2 separate regions of the Homo sapiens genome follow, and region 2 is linked to region 1. Evidence: promoter capture Hi-C in 16 types of primary human blood cells and fetal thymus (Javierre and others, 2016). All regions are on one chromosome and are shown on one strand. The core of a region is centred on a gene start or on the middle of the fragment in contact, and the rest is flanking DNA. Distances in the headings are between cores, read along the strand shown. Region 1 holds the start of CSMD3 (CUB and Sushi multiple domains 3). Region 2 has its middle 200 kb from the start of LINC01608.

Evidence for each region. The method cuts DNA at HindIII sites, captures the fragments that hold promoters and counts their contacts. A CHiCAGO score of 5 or more calls a contact.
Region 2: a contact is called between a fragment that was not itself captured here and the fragment with the promoter of CSMD3 in region 1, in 1 of 17 cell types (endothelial precursors). The highest score is 11.7, in endothelial precursors.

What each region holds. Positions count from the first base shown.
Region 1 is chr8:113,435,499-113,438,198 of GRCh38, forward strand. It overlaps CSMD3 (CUB and Sushi multiple domains 3), which reads right to left and starts at 1,441. Exons shown (of 71, transcript NM_198123.2): 1 at 1,179-1,441. The coding sequence starts at 1,356. RefSeq lists enhancers at 25-535, 2,313-2,362, 2,375-2,700. The HindIII fragment of the contact is 6,354 bases long and covers 1-2,700 here.
Region 2 is chr8:110,825,490-110,828,189 of GRCh38, forward strand. No RefSeq gene overlaps it. Among named protein-coding and RNA genes, the nearest start is that of LINC01608, 200 kb to the right of the region's middle. The HindIII fragment of the contact is 2,024 bases long and covers 341-2,364 here.

The DNA of each region.
Region 1 (2,700 bases), core at 191-2,690:
AGACGCGGCCCGATTGCAGTTCAGAGAGGCACTCCTTTACAAAGGAAGAAGCGTCCAGTTTGTGTTGACAGCCCTGGCGCGCCTGGGCCAAAACAGCACCCCCTTTCCCGCGATCCCCCGCCCCCCCGCGACACACAGACACCCGGGATTTGAAACTAGCTTCACTGAAAGCGGCATCCATAGCGTCTATTCGAGCTGCCATGAGTATGGAGAGGTGATTGTTCAAAAAATGATGGCATGAGTCATAAACACCTCCTGAGTATTCTTTGCAGCAATTAATGGGCAGCAGGGTGCCGGAGAAGTTGTGGAAGAGAGCTATGGATCTATTTTCTCCCTAAGGACAGCTCTTTTTCCCATGATCCTGACTGTCCCTTGCCTTCCTGCTTGGGAATACATTTTTACATCCCACCTACCCCCTCCCCTATCTGTGCATGTGACACTCACTCTACCTGTCTGAACGCTGAGACTTGCTGGGGATTTTCTTTTGGTCGTCAGCTAATGACTTTCCTCCTACCTCATTCATCCCTTAAGGTGGTTCTTTACACTTCATGGCATTTCAGACCCTTCGAAAGCCTCATTTTTTGCCAAACCTCTACCACAGGTCCTAGGGAAGCTCCCCTACATTTAACATTGCATAGAAGCCCAATTTACATACATATGCATGCAGACATTCATGTTGATGTGGCAGTGCTTGGAAGATCCCTGTGCCCTAATGCATTTAAAATCAACACATTCCTAGCACGTCGATAACTTTCTTCCCTGAAAGGGTTAAAAAGCATTTAGACCAGCGTCTTTAATATATATATTCCACCCAAAGCCTCAAGCCCTAGTGATCTGACAAGAAATCAAGGTAATCCTCACCACTAAGAAAAGTCTTGCAGAGGAATTCTGCCTGGATATCCACTAGTTAGAGGCTATACTAACCAACTCACGTATTCGTTTGAGCATACTGCAAGAATATTTATTGAGCACAAGCTCAATCACCGCATTGAACGCCAAATCTGGCAAGCAAAATGCATTTCCTATCTGAGGGGGGGAGAACGAGCTGTGAATCAACTCCTTTAGTATTATCAGATTATTTTATCGGTGCAAATTGCAAAGTAAGCTGCCAGCCTCTCTCCATCTACAAGTCAGCCCACCTCCATCCAAAGCGGAGGGGACCCCCAAAGCAGACCTACCTTTCACACAAGACACCGTCAATAAAAAGACGAGGTTCCAAAACGTAAATCCACTTTTAATCCCCATTTTCTTCATCAGGATGAAGTCTAGGCGGCCACATTTAGCGCATCTTCGCTTGCCAGGCTCCCAGGGTTTGGATTCCTTTGCTCGGCTTTCCCCTTTGCGGATCCCTTTCATATTATTCGCGAGCTCCTAATTCCTGCTCCTCAGCCCGGCGCAGTGGAGTTGTTGCTGTTGTTGGTGCGCGGTCACAGCTCGGAGTGAATGGTGTTTCTGGGATACCACAGCAACCTTGACGAGGACTCAACCATCTCTCCAACGGGGGCACAAAGTCTCCGCTACTCTGGATTCTGTCTTTTCTTGTGCGTTTTTTCCCCTCCACCAAAATCTACCCCAATTCTGGCTCGTTATAGCAACCACCAGAAACCACTAGTGAGCCTCTTAAAGCCCACCTCTGCTCTCTGATAAACTCCACACAATATTTGAAATTAAGGGGCTTGCTTTTTTTCCCCGAATAGATCAATTCTGCCTGTAAAAGCAGCCCAAGAAATAATGTTAGTGAGCTCTCCGTTGCAGGCTGCGAATACAGAAGCATGTCAAAGGAATATTTTAATCGGAGGATCTGTGTTGCTTTTGGGGAAACCGTGACGATAATGAATCGGGCTCCATCGATGCCCACGTCGTTATAATGGGACATGTGTTACTACTGTAGTTGCAGTATATTTCAGGCAGGCTTCTCCCATTTATTATCCTGTGATTTAATTGAAAAAGGAAATCACAGAGAATTTTCTCAATAAATTCTGCCTTCACACGGAAAAGAATGTATTTGAACACATGTATTTACATACTCAAATAACTACGTGTAAACCCTTCACCGGGTTTTTATGATTCGGGAAACGGATTTCATCCGTGGCCTGGGCGGGGGTGGGGTGGGGAGGGAAGTCAATGTCGTTTCCTCAAATAGTTCTCCCTTTCATCCTCCCAACCCCCTTTTCAGTTTGTGTGTGCCGCAGTTAAACTACTTTATCTGTGGTAGTTATCTAGAACAAACCCATTTGTCTTAATTCTGAATCGGTACCAAATATGTAAATAGGAGGTTTCTTTCAAAACGAAAAATGTATGTATCTATACATCTGGATCTGCTTCCCCCATGCACCACGCAAGGGTTAAGATTGCACAAGGGAAGAGTTCTTGCGCCATCTACTGGCCGTCTCCGAGCCGCCCGTTCTTCCTTCGCATGTATAAGGGACCCTGTTTTTGCCATCCCTTGGTGTCAGGGGAGCTGTGTCCCCGGGACCAGTATGTCGTGCTCCTTGATTTTTTTCGACCACGGTCCTGGCCCAAATCTTTCAATGAACAAGTTCCTTAGATTAGGCAACTGATTGGTGATCTGACCTTTTCGGGAATCTGGTCCCCTCTCAGCAGTGGGGAGTGCCACAGCGCTAGTTCTGAAACAGGATATTGCTGTTGCGTGTGGCTCCATTTAACTGCCTCAGGCTATCATGGGCGTGAGCGTCTATC
Region 2 (2,700 bases), core at 103-2,602, 2.6 Mb before region 1:
TCTTTTTGGCCTAATAATTAGACAGAGGCTATAGCAATACAAATTAAAAAAGAAAATATTCAGACTTTCAGGAGTATATGTTGTGGGGCCCAAGTGAATTTTCCAAATCCATAAATATATCATTTATTTCAAATAGTGTGCTATTGAACAGCAAAGTCAATTTGATATTAGTTTCTGAAGAGCCCCCAAAAAGCCAATTGCCAATTGGCAATTAGCAAGACTACCATTTTTAGTCTAGATGCTCAAAAGAAAGTGCTGAGGTCAAAAAGGGTGAAAAGAGTTAATCTGTAGTTTAGCTTGATCTTTAGTTTTGTAACATTACCATTGAACTGTAATCCAAAGCTTTTTGTTCAATAATAATATTTTCCCTTGAACAATTGTGTTGTAAGTCTGTGCACAGTAGGCTTCTAAAATGTTAAGACATGTTTATATACACATTTACACTTTAAAAAGTAGGTCTCTCAGTGAATAAATTTTCATTTATCTATACAATATTCTTTCTACTTGTAAAAATGTTTCATTCCAGTGTTCATGTTTAAGAATGCCTATAATTAATTGTTTGTAATAGTCATCCATCAAGAATAAAATTGCAAAATAAATATTTTACATACGTATAATAAATATCAGAGAAGAATGAAAACTAAAAATTATAAATTATGACAGGGATTAATCTATAAAACATAATATGAAGCAAACAAGACAACATCAAATATAATACATCCGTTAAGATTGTATCCACATTAGTTTAAATTGAGCAAAACTTAACTCTGTTATGTAGAGATGCATACAACTATTAAACAAAAAAGCATAAAAATAATTATCAAAAGGTAAAGCACAGGGATTACCTCTAAGAAAAGCAATGACAATTAAAAACATATATTTTAATAAAAGTAAAAAATGTTAATCTGATTTTACAATTTGCGATTGAATAAATTTTTTTGTTCAACCCTCCTGAAATTAACTCCTCTGATCTCACTGTGCCATTTAGACAACCCCAAATAATGCTATTTTCTTTGAGAAATATGTAATTTACACACATAAAACCCACCATCATCCAAAAATTTAAAAGAATATAATTCACTCAAAATTTTGCAATGTACATTTTTCATAAAAAGAAAGGGCATTTTAGCAGCCAATCTTGTCAATTTTCCTTAGGAAACTTCACTCCCTGCATCACATTTATAATTTGTATTAATAAGAAAACAAACTTATTTTTCTGGTGTTTCAAAAATTGCATATTCTGTTGCCATCAAACTAATCATCAAGTAACTTGTTTAGGTCATTTTTTTCCTTTTTTTTTTTTGTTCCTTAGGCTGGAGTCAATAGTGTTAGCTCACTGCAACCTCCGCCTCCCAGGTTCAAGGGATTCTACTGCCTCAGCCTCCCGAGTAGCTGGGATTACAGGCACCCATCACCATGCTCGGCTAATTTTTTGTGTTTTTTAGTAGAGATGAGGTTTCACCATGTGGGCCAGGCTGGTCTCAAACTCCTGAACTCAAGTGATCACCCCACCTCAGCCTCCCAAAGCATGCTTGTTTTCTTTAAAAATGACTATATTACCACCTTGTTTGAATTTTTCTAAGAAATTGAAATTTCATTGTCTATCCAGATTATATTTTCTCTTGCCTTGAAACATGCCTTGTAATTTGTTGTTGTTGTTGGAAGTCAGACATGTTATATTTGGAAATAGAAATTGTGTATAAGAGTTTACATTTACGAGGCTGAAAGTTGTTTAGTCTTTACTGTTTGCTGTGCGCACCAATGCATGACTTCAATTTCCTCTACTGTCCTTGTTTTGTCTTTCCTGTTGTCTTTAGGTTTCCCTAGAAATTCTTCATTAAATATAGTCTGAGCCTTGTAGTTCTATCAGATGTAATCTTCTGCTGTGACACAGATACTCTGTTGATGTGGTGGTAAGGTGTGTGGGGAGAGGAAGCCTTCAATCATGCCATGATTCAGTCTCAGTCTTTTAGTGGGCCTGTGTCCCTAGGGTGTGATGTTTGTAAGTGCCCCTCAGTCCCTCCCTCCTCCCACACCACACACATAGACTGACACCATACACACAGAACTAACTTTCTCAACTAAGACCAGAGAAGGCTGAAACTGAGTATTTACCTACCTTTACTTTAGTTAACTTCTTGCAAAGTGGTTTCCTTTGAGGACAGAGAAAAATAATCTTTTAGTATATTTCAAATTGGTTACTTTCTCATGAGCATTCTCCATGATGGTTAGTTTTCCTCTCCTTTTGCTGAAGCATGAGGGGCTTTTTTCATATTTTCACCACGAGAATCTGGATGAGCTCCTGGGGATAAAGCTCACTACAGTGACCCTTAAGGCTGAATCTTCAGTAGTTTTTAACTCTGAAGCTTCTACACACAACGTGACCAACACTTGATCAGCAACCATTTAAGTTTTCCTCTTCTTCCTCTTCTAGCATCTTCTGTTCTTGGTGAGCTGAAACTTTCTGTATTTGAAAGTCTCTCTGGTTTTAAGAGCATCAGTCCGTTATGTAACCTTAATTCTAGGATGCACTTAAGAATGCTTTTTGATTTTTAGTTTGTTCAGTTTTTCTTTTTTCTTGAAGGAAGGATGACAGTGATGCCTTCTAAGGTCTTCATACTGTAGCAGAAATAGAAATTCCTGAACATATATATTTAAAATAAGGTTTCTGAATCTGAAAATGGTTTAGAGACTTTCACG